2 separate regions of the Homo sapiens genome follow, and region 1 is linked to region 2. Evidence: promoter capture Hi-C in human tissues and cell types (Jung and others, 2019). All regions are on one chromosome and are shown on one strand. Each heading gives the region's core, a stretch centred on a gene start or on the middle of the fragment in contact. The rest is flanking DNA. Distances are from core to core; before and after follow the strand shown. Region 1 overlaps ZBTB24 (zinc finger and BTB domain containing 24). Region 2 holds the start of SCML4 (Scm polycomb group protein like 4).

The links. Contacts are between HindIII fragments. The study calls those that stand out against the background at their distance.
Region 1: a contact is called between a fragment that was not itself captured here and the fragment with the promoter of SCML4 in region 2, in 1 of the 25 tissues and cell types used here (hippocampus).

The regions. Positions count from the first base shown.
Region 1 is chr6:109,460,251-109,466,011 of GRCh38, forward strand. ZBTB24 (zinc finger and BTB domain containing 24) reads right to left here. Exons shown (of 7, transcript NM_014797.3): 7 at 2,344-5,761. The coding sequence ends at 5,601. It also overlaps a transcript of MICAL1 not described here. Among named protein-coding and RNA genes, the nearest start is that of MICAL1, 7.4 kb to the left of the region's middle. The HindIII fragment of the contact is 4,283 bases long and covers 173-4,455 here.
Region 2 is chr6:107,821,927-107,827,485 of GRCh38, forward strand. SCML4 (Scm polycomb group protein like 4) reads right to left here and starts at 2,387. Exons shown (of 8, transcript NM_198081.5): 1 at 2,200-2,387. RefSeq lists an enhancer at 470-539. The HindIII fragment of the contact is 11,941 bases long and covers 1-5,559 here.

The DNA.
Region 1 (5,761 bases), core at 1,064-3,563, 1.6 Mb after region 2:
TTGAGACCAGCCTGGGTAACGTAGTGAGACCTTGTCTCTAAAAAAAAATCTAAAAATTAGCTGAGTGTGGTGGTGGTGCATGCCTGTGGTCCCAGGTACTCAGGAGGCTAAGAGGCTGTAGTGAGCCATGATCATGCCACTGCACTTCAGCCTGTGACAGAGCAAGACCCTACGTAAAAAAAAAAAAAAAAAAAGAAATGTAATCGAATGAGCTTTAGTTTAAAAGCTGTTGATGTCCCATGTTTCAAGTTAGAATGAAATATATATATAAATACACACACACACACACACACACACACACTCCAGTAAGCTAAAGTCTTTTGCTGCTTAATTATGTGTAAAGGATTTGAGAGCAGGATAAACTATCACAACATTCCAGCTTCTTTTAGAGGTCACTCCTTGAGAGCTGCTATTTACAAAAGGCAAGGCAAGCAGATTTTTCACAGGTCATTCCTCTTTATCTGCTATTTACAAAAGCAAAACAAAGAGTTTTCTTTCAATTCTTAAGAGTTTAGGCTTAAGTTTAGAAACTGAAAATGAAATTTTACCTTAATGCTTATTAAGGATAACAAAAATAAAACAAACCTACCCTAAACTTAAAATATCCTCAGTCAAAAATTTGAAAAAAGGGCTCACTTACAGAGGCTCCTGTTAACTAAGACATTTTCACCTTACCAGTAACTTTCATCCAACTGGCAAATTTCGATTAAGCTTTTTTTTAAATTATACTTTAAGTTCTAGGGTACATGTGCACAACATGCAGGTTACATAGGTATACATGTGCCATGCTGGTATGCTGCACCCATCAACTTGTCATTTACATTAGGTATTTCTCATAATCCTATCCCTCCCCCAGCCCCCCACCCTATGACAGGCCCTGGTATGTGATGTTCCCTGCCTTGTGTCCAAGTGTTCTCATTGTTCAATTCCCATCTATGAGTGAGAACATGTGGTGTTTGGTTTTCTGTTCCTGTGTTAGTTTGCTGAGAATGATGATTTCCAGTTTCATCCATGTCCCTGCAAAGGACATGAACTCATCCATCCTTTTTTATGGCTGCATAGTATTCCATGGTGTATATGTGCCACATTTTCTTACCAATTAAGCTTTAAATCAATAGTAGTGAAACACTAACATGATTATATGGTAGTTACTGAATTTCTGTAGACCGTAACTTTCACTACTATTGTTTTATGTAAAAAAGTTATAATTGTATGCAGGTGGCACATGCTTGTAATCCCAGCACTTTAGGAGGCCAAGGTGGGAGGACTGCTTGAGGCCAGGAGTTTGAGGCCAGCCTGGGCAATATAGTGAGACCCTGTCTCCACTTAAAAAAAGAAAAAAGTATGCTATAATTCCAGACATAGACCCTCAATTTTAGTCAAAAACTTCTATTACATTAAGCAGGTCACATTCTTTAATTAGTAAGTTCTTATTAAATATGTAATTTTTAATAAGAACTTAATAAGTGGGAAATAAATTATGTATTTAATAATAAATAAGAAATTACTTATTTAATAAGAAAATTGTCCTTTTCTTTTGGTTCTATTAACCTTGGGAATAAGAAATCCAGCTTAAAGTTTTAAAAGCCTGTGCCCTAGTTCTGGTTCTACCACTTACTGTATGACATTTGGCAACAGACTTTCTCTTTGGGCTCCATGTTCTCATCTGTCCAATAAGCATAATAATTACTCACCTCACCAGAATGTCATGAAGATTAAGATGAGACATGCTTCCAGTGGTTAAGGTGTGTCCCAGACACTGCTCCCCTCCTCACTCAGATGCCAGTTGTTAGGAGGTAAATTGTGTCCCCCTACTCCAAATTCACATGTTGATGTCCTAATACCCAGCATCTCAGAATGGGATTGTATTTGAAAAGATGATTAAATGAGGACATTAATGTGGGCTGATCCCATACAACTGGTGTTCTTAAAAGAGAGTAAGACAGAGGGAAGGACATGTGAAGATACAGGCAGGGGAAGACAACTAGAAGGGAGGCCTCAGAAGAAACCAACCCCACTGACACGTTGATCTTGGACTTTCTATTTTTTCAGTCACCCAGTCTGTGGTATTTGTTATGGTAGTCATGGCAAACTAATATACCAGTCATGAACAGAGGGGACTGGAGTCCTCCAACCAGAGGGTGCTATATTGTAAATCTGTGTGCCATGACATGGAAGATGTTTGAGACCCAGTAAGATATGATACAGATTTAACAGACCTGGCTTGGCTCCTGGACAATAGTAAGGACTCCATATTTGGAAGATATTGTTACATTCCCATTTATGAAAACCTAGATAAGCATCTATAATGAGAATCCTAGGTAAGCATTTATAATGAGAATCTTTTTTCATTCCTCAGCATCATTTAATCTGTTGCTCACAACATTTATAACACAAGAACCAACTGTAGAAAATACAGAGTAGAGGTGAGTTTCAAGAAGCACTGGGCAAGCACTTGAATAACTGATTTTGATGGTAAGAGCTCCAATCATCCCAAGGCAGACCCTCTTCTGGGAGAAAACCAAAGATTCACCTTCAAAACGAGGTGTTTCAGGAGCCCCAAAGCATAACATTCTATTTCCTAAGAAACACACTCTATATTTCTGTTAAAACAATTTAAAAAATGGTACACATTTAGTAGAAAATGAATTGTGAAACACTGCACTAGCAACATCATTTCTCAAGGACACATGAGAAGTACTTTCATGTTCACGACATTTCTTTTGGGTACTCAAGTCATTTAACTTTTTTTTTTGAGACGGAGTCTCGCTCTGTCGCCAGGCTTGAGTGCAATGGCGTGATCTCAGCTCACTGCAGCCTCCGCCTCCTGGGTTCAAGTGATTCTCCTGTCTCAGCCTCCCGAGTAGCTGGGATTACAGGGGTACACCACCACGCCCAGCTAATTTTTGTATTTTTAGTAGAGATGGGGTTTCACTATGTTGGTCAGGCTGCCCTCGAACTCCTGACCTCGTGATCCGCCCACCTTGGCCTCCCAAAGTGCTGGGATTACAGGCATGAGCCTCCACGCCCGGCGTCATTGAACTTTTTTATTCAAAGGGGTAGAATGTATATGTGGGACAAAGAAAGAGGCTAGATTAACAAAGCTATCATTTCCTTGTTTCTCTTTGACAGCTGGTCAAATAATTCAGGCATAGCTAGGACTGATGCTCAAGTTAGAAACAGGTGGCCCATGCTGTCCAATATAGCAGCCACTAGCCACATGTGCTTATCAAGCATTTGCACTGTGTCCCATGCAACAAGGAACTGGATTTTAATTTTAATAAATTTAATATAAATTTTTAAACTGATACTTATTTCAATTCTTGAAAAAAACTTTTGTCTTAGCTACTTGATATGAGAATCTGTTTTCAACTGTAAGTTGTATGAAATCTAAATACAGATCAAGTATGTCCAATGAACATTAGCATCCAAATGGAGATGTGCAGAAAGTGTAAAATACACACCAGATTTCGAAAGCTTAGTATGAAAAAGAGAATGTAAAATGTCTCACTAATATATTTTTATATGTTGAAATATTTGGCAAATGTTGGATTAAATAAACTTTTATTAACATTTTCACCTGCTTCTTTTTATGTTTTTAAAAGTTGCTACTAGAACATTTAAAGTGACCTATGTTGTTCATGTTATAGTTCTCTTAGTGTAGAGGTAGACTGTTATAGAGCCAGTGAAACTTGACTTATAAATAGCTATGTAACCGTATTTTCTGAATAATCACCTAGCTATCCAGAGTGAGTAAACACTCACTTACTTAAATATTTAATTTCCTGGAGAAAATGTGGATTGGTGGGCTTTGAAAAGTTGGTAAAAACTTTGTGTTTTAAGAATAAAATTAAACAGTTTAAACGAGAACCTGAAATAATACTTAGGGCTTAACAGTGTTTGTAAAAAATTGTTATCTTTGCTCTAGTCAGGCCTGATTTAACATTAGTTTGGTTGATACATATAAGATATATATCATTTTGGAAGTTTTGTGAATTACATATAATAAAATATAGCTTAGCAAATATGCAACCAAAATGTTTTTATCTTCTCTCAAACCTGAAGAATTCTCTATTACTCTAACCTCCAAATAACTTATTTGATTTAGGGAGAAATCAAGGATGTCTAAAACAAAACAATTGATGGAAAGGCTCTATTAATTTTAGAGTAGATTACCCCCTACTCCCCATCAGCATTGTTAATTTAGATATACTAGTGCCCACCTTCTTTTCTCAAAAATCCCCTACCAGCTTACATGAAAGTGGTAAAAGAATTCAATAAGCTTAGCTTGAAAACCTAACCCAAACATAATTTAATCTTTTGATGATGATTTAAAAATCATACAATTACAGACACATGCTGGCTACAAAGTCTCTGAGGCTCAAAGTTTTAAGATTAGATGAAGATTAGCTGGGTGTGGTGGTACATCCCTGTAGTCCCAGCTACTAGGGAGGCTAAGGTGGGAGGGTTGCTTGAGCCCAGGAATTCGAGGTTACAGTGAGCAATGATTGTGCCACTACACTCTGGCCTGGGTGATACAGTGAGACCCTGTCTCTAAAAAAGGAAAGATTAGGAGAAGATATTCACTTTGTGGGATTTAACTAGTCTGCAATAAAAATGAATTATAAGCTTCCATCTCCAGAAAGTTATCAGACACAACACGTAGATCAACATTTTCAGGAGATCAGTTAGAATTCAGTAGAGTATATATAAGACTTAAATTACACTGAATAAAGTTTTATGTTCCAGAATAGTGAAGAAAGCTTTACCTTCATGAAAATCAAATCTCTTTTCTGACAAAAATTCAGAATTTAGGGTGAATGTCTTGATCCAATTTTGTATTTTAAACTTAATTAAAATTTTGATAGCCTTCTGTTGAAAAATATGTAAATTTATGTTTCTCAGAAAAGACGAATTCAGAATTTTAAGAAATCCTATGCTTTTGGCTATCTTGTTACATGAATTTTGAGTTAAAATACTGAGTTTATGAGTTTGAATCTTTCTGAAGTGTTAACACAATAAGCCCACTGTACTGCATAAAGATAAAACGTTGAGGGTTACTTTGTCTTAGGGGACTGGAAATTATTAAAAGGGCAAATTCCCCATACATTGTGATCTGTCATATTTAGCCCTGACTTGTCTTGTGGTAACAACTGTGTTGCCTAAGAAAAATAAGAAAATAGAACAAACCATTCTGCCCAGTTCAACCAAAATGACTCCCTTTGTCCTAGAAAACAAAAAAACATAACTGGGGAGGTTGGCAAGACCATAACCTATGGCTGTGAACATTTAAACCTTACAGAAAAACTGAGATCAATGCCCCCAAAGAAAAACTACCCGAGTCTTTATGAGACATTGCAGATTAAAATGAAAACCATTCAATAATATTGAAATGCTCAATACAAATCAGTACCTTAGACAAGACATACACACATCTTGCTACCTGGATGGAGGGCATTATAAACATCAGTTAGCCATCACAGCTCTCACAGAAGCATCTGCAAGTCAATGGTGTGGAGAGCCTGATTTCAAGCGTTCAAAATCCAGTCAGAGCTGGCTTATAAGAAGAGCCCAATCAAGCAGTCAAACGTGTTTACAGGTCAGCTCTGCTCCTGGCCAAGTGGCGTTGGCTGGGGCACGTGGTGAGTGGGTGGTGGCGGACCAGGCTCCTGTGTCAGCTGCAGGTGCTGAGCTGGATCTGAAGTACTTGTAGCTAAATGGAGCTCCTCTGTTTGCTCTTGATGGGCATGAAGATGTTCCA
Region 2 (5,559 bases), core at 1,137-3,636:
ATTGTAAACAGACCTACGAAGCACTCTAACATTTAAGCCCCCAGACTCCCAGAAAGGTTATTCCTCTCCGAGCATTCCTTGTTATGATTTCAGGGAACTTCAGTTATGTTTCCTTAAAAGTATTGAAGTATTTGAGATCCAAAATTGAGATTAAAAATACATAAACAGCAGAGATGATTTTCTCATCATTTCAAATTTTAAAAATTAAAAAAGTCTATCTTTGTACTTTGGGGTAGTGCTTGAATTTTTTAATAGGAAAGTGTTACTGAGTATTTTTTTAAAGTCAATATTGTTTTGAACTCTCATTATAAAAGTTCTTGCAGCAAGTGACAGTATTTGGGTCTGGCTTGTTTTCTGTGGGCTGAGCTGCTTAGCTTACCTGCTGCTTGCTAGAGGAGACAGCCTTTCACCCTCACCCCCAGGAGTCAAGAACCAGAAAGTGAAACTGCTTCTGCTGATTTCCCTCGCCTCGAAAACACACCACCAAAAGCAAAGAAATGATGAAAAGCAACTTACTCGTTTCGCTTATTGTTTTCTTGTCTTTCTATTACCGTTCATTTACTCTTTTCTTTTTTTCTTTTCTTTTTTTTTTTTTGCAGCAAAATAAAAGTAATTTTGGGGACACAGGGAAGAAATGTAAACATGTTATACATGAAAGAACTGGATTTTTGTGGGCTTTGCACTTTTGTTATAATTCCACAAATGAAGCAAACTGATGAATTTACCAAAATATTTCAGAGCTCATCTACGTACACAATTTAAAGAGCTAAAGAAAACACATTCATATTTTTTAAAAATTCTGTCAAAAAGCCTGTTTAAAAGTTATAGTTTGTGAAGCCACCAATTTCCCTAAAACTGAAGATTCTACATTAACCTTTTGAGTTTAGACGATCACGCAGTACCGATTTTCTAGGTAATCTTCACCCAGCTGCTGTTGCTCAAACAGCCCCTCATTTTATCAGACTAGTTCTACCAAGCAACACAAAAAATGCTCCACACAAATATTATACCCCCCAGATAGTTTAACACACTAAGAATTCCTTTGTAGTTATTTTTATGCTTTCACTCCAGATATTCTATTTTGCTTTAAAAAAAAAAAAGTGGAGAAAAAAAGCAGCTATATCCCTCATTCTTCAAAAATGGTTCCTCTGGTTGAAAAGAAAGAAAAACAGCATATAACAAATACCCTGATTCTGAAGTGCCTGGATTACTTTCTCAAGTACTGTAGTGTCTGAGATCAGTAAAAAACCACTTTCTCAGAAAGCCACTGATTGTCTAACCCTCATGAGTACCGTCATGGAATCTAGAGACAACACGAGGAGACACCTCTCGTTCACGATCACAGATAGTGGAAAGAACTTTGACTCAAGCACCTCAACTCAGCAAAACAGCTCAGCAGCCTGCACCCTGGCCTCATCCACCGCTCCTGTCCAGCCAGCAATCAACCTGGAGAGGACCCCTCATGCTTTGGGAGGAGCACGTGGAAGCTGGTTCAAGTCACAGTGCTCCACCTGGGAAGGAGGTGATTTTGAGCTTGGGAAAACTGCCGCTAATACTCCATAGTCACCAGTTTTTTTCCCAAAAAACGAATTAAAACCAGAAACTAGCAGTAAATATTATTCTTATTTATGCCTCATAAATTAGGAAAAACCAGCACAAAGACATGTGAAATATTCTACCTGGGATATTTGAAATAAAATTAAATGGGAAAAAAAACACTTTTACATGTTCATAACATACCAATTTTAATAACCAAATTTTAGGTAAATATTTTTATCCCAAGACATAGTACAATTTTTTTAAAATTAAAAAGCAAAACAAAGCAAAATTATCGTGAAGGGAAAAAATAACTAACCGGTTACTTGAGTTCACATTTGGAAAAAAATAACTTTCTAGGTATTTAAATGCAGAGTTAAAGAGTAATGAACATGTATATAGCCCAAATTTATAAACTATATAATTCAATGTTACATTTTCCCCTCTGAGATCTGGTTAATAAATTAAATGCTGTACTTTGCATATGAGGAACTAAAGTTTACCTACTGGACTCAGTGGTTTTAGTGCAGGACACTCTTGTGCGTTGCCATAGAGGTAGGCATGCAACCCAGAAAAAACTGAAACAGGTAACCTGTCATGCTGACAGTTACAAGAGAAAGATCCCGTGTCAACGGCACGCCTCCAATTGTGCATCTCCCTTACCTACAGCTTGTTCACCAGAGCCCTGAGCAGGTTGTTTACCAGGTCGGGAGTGTTGACTCAGAAGACAGATGACTTTCAGCACATGCAAACCGAGTATTGCAAAAGCTATCTTCCACCCGTGTTAGTAGCTCACAGTTAGTCTCCAGCAGCCCTGCGCTCCAGCTGCAAACATCTCATTAGACTAATGCATTCAGCACAGGCAGAAAACTCGATTTACCATAGCTACAGCAATGAATTTCCATTACGATGACAGCTTCAACCACATCATGTCCGGAAAACCAGCCAACCACTGGCTTTTAAAGAACACACACATTTTACATGCAGAAAACGAGGCCTCTGTGTGTGTGTGTGTGTGTGTGTGTGTGTGTGTGTGTGTGTGTGTGTGTGTGTGTTTTGTGTTTCCTTCCTCTTAGCAGCCTAAGAGAAATGTGCAGTGTAGCTTTTTGTCGACATGAGCTGCAAGGTAATGACACTTCTGCTTCTTTGGTAGTTACATCCTTGTAATAACCTGAATTATGTCACAATGGTTAGAATGGGTGTTTCCAACATTTCAGTTTTCATTACCCCTCCTCTGTTGCCATAGAAACCAGACTGTAACATCGTCTCTTTGTCCCAATCCTGCAGCAGTGTGGGCCAACACCAGGCTTATAAGACACTGGTGATCTGACAGAGTGAATGTTTGACTTTGGACAAATAAAACAAAAAGAAATATTACAATAGCATCATTGTTCAGGAGACCCTGTGTGATTCCCAGAGCAGTGTGCCTATCCAGGTGTGTGCACACACCATGGTTGTACATATTAAATCAGCGGCTGCCCACAACATATGTGTACAGTTCATTAAAGCCGGCCCTGACTTTGGCTCCAGGCCTGTATGTGTGTGTGTGTAAGCATCTCTACCCACCTCAACGTGGTGGGACCTGCACAGGATAGAAACAGGGCAAGAGTGACTATTCATTCCCATGCCCCATTGCATTTTCTGCAGCAAATCAATATATATCGGCGAAGGGATCTTTTCTTTTCCTTTCTTTTTGTAAAGTGGAGCAGGGCTCCCCATTGCCCATTTCATCCACTCTGGGATATTGGCATATTCACAGGTATTTCCTACAAGATGAAACATCCATTCTACAAACATGTGGCTTACTCCTAGGGATGAGCAGCAAACAAATTTAGCCGGGACTAAATATCAACCAGGGCTAACGAAGGCTTAGGCCACAACCTGGCCAGTTACTGAGAGTGAAAAAAACTGCAATGGACAACTTGAGGTTTCTCTAAATATATGTGTAGAGTCACATTAGAAGTACATAAGAAATCTCTCCTCTGAAATTTATTATGAAAATATAAAAAATTGTTTTAAGTCAAAGCCTTGTAATTAATTGAGCAAGAAGAAATTCACTACTTTAGTTCATTTAATCATCAAATTTTGTTGTTTTGTATGGGAAAAGGCAGGTTTGGTAGTTTGCATTTTCATTTCATATAAGTTGATTTCACTAAAGAAGGAGGAAGAGGAGAAGAAAAGAAAATAAGATGGATGGGCCAGGTGCAGTGGCTCATGCCTGTAATCCCAGCACTTTGGGAGGCCAAGGCGGGTGGATCACGAGGTCAGGAGATCGAGACCATCCTGTGAATGGTGAAACCCCGTCTCTACTAAAAATACAAAAAATTAGCTGGGCGTGGTGGCGGGCGCCTGTAGTCCCAGCTACTTGGGAGGCTGAGGAGGGAGAATGGCGTGAACCCGGGAGGCGGAGCTCACAGTGAGCCGATACCGTGCCACTGCACTCCAGCCTGGGTGACAGAGCGAGACTCCATCTCAAAAAAAAAAAAAAAAAAAAGAAAATAAGATGGATGGGCTAGGTGTGGTGGCTCATGCCTGTAATCCCAGCATTTTGGGACTCCTGGACTTGAGGTTAGGAGTTCGAGACCAGACTGGCCAACATGGTGAAACCCCATCTCTACTAAAAATACAAAAATTAGCCAGGCTTGGTGGCGCTTGCCTGTAATCCCAGCTACTCGGGAGGCTGAGGCAGGAGAATCGCTTGAACCTGGGAGGGAGAGGTTGCAGTGAGCTGAGATCACGCCATTGCACTCCAGCTTGGGTGACAAGAGTGAAATTCCATCTCAAAAAAAAAGAAAAAAGAAAGAAAAAGAAAAGAAGAAAAGAAAAGAAAAGAAAGAAAAGAAAAAGAAGAAAAGAAAAGGAAAGAAAAGGAAAGAAGATGGATGATTTAAGTTTGGACAGCATCTCTGTCCCAGCGACAGCGGTTATTATACTCACACCCGTGGCCTCACACATGCCACACTACACTGAGCTTAAAGCACCTGGAATGGGCTGAGACATTAGACCAATTTTCACTCTAAAATGTTTCTTAGGATTAAAAAAAATAACATTTCTTAAGTAATCAGAAATAATCTCCAAGTCCTGTAAAAGAAGTAAAAGGGTTGGCAGAATCTACCCATAAGAAAGGAGTTGCTGGTTTTCCTACCCAGCTCTGTGAGGGTTTCTCACTCTGATCCTCAGGCCCAACCTCCTTGCCTCCTCCCAGATGGGCTACTGTTGTCCTTGTCCTCAAGGTGGGTGCATGTGGGAAGCACCCATTGTCATCTAACAGGTCAACTTGGTAATAAAGCCTAAAATTGAAATCAACAAAAGCTGGATTGCTTGGGCGCGGTGGCTCACGCCTGTAATCCCAGCACTTTGGGAGGCTGAGGTGGGCAGATCACAAGGTCAGGAGATCGAGACCATCCTGGCTAACACGGTGAAACCCCGTCTCTACTAAAAATACAAAAAATTAGCTGGGAGTGGTGGCAGGCGCCTGTAGTCCCAGCTACTTGGGAGGCTGAGGCAGGAGAATGGTGTGAACCCGGGAGGCGGAGCTTGCAGTGAGCCGAGATCACGCCACTGCACTACAGCCTGGGCGACAGAGCGAGACTCCGTCTCAAAAAATATATATATTTTTTATATATATGTATATATTTAAGTAAACAATATTTATTTACTTAAATATGTTATTCAAAATATTTGATATTTAATAAATTATTCATTAAATTATGTAATTTAATAAATTTAATAAATATGTAAATATATTTATTTAAATATATCTTTATATTTTTATTTAAATATATTTACATTTTTATTTAAATATATATTTACATTTTTATTTAAATATATATTTGTTTTTTACTTAAATGTATATTTTTATTTAAATATATCTTTATATTTTTTACTTAAATTTTTTTATTTAAATATATCTGTATATACACACATTTATTAAAATATATATATTTAAACTTACTGGGATTTCTTTCTTCATGCAACCAGGAACATAGCTTTTAATAACTTAAATCAATATTTTAAAAAATC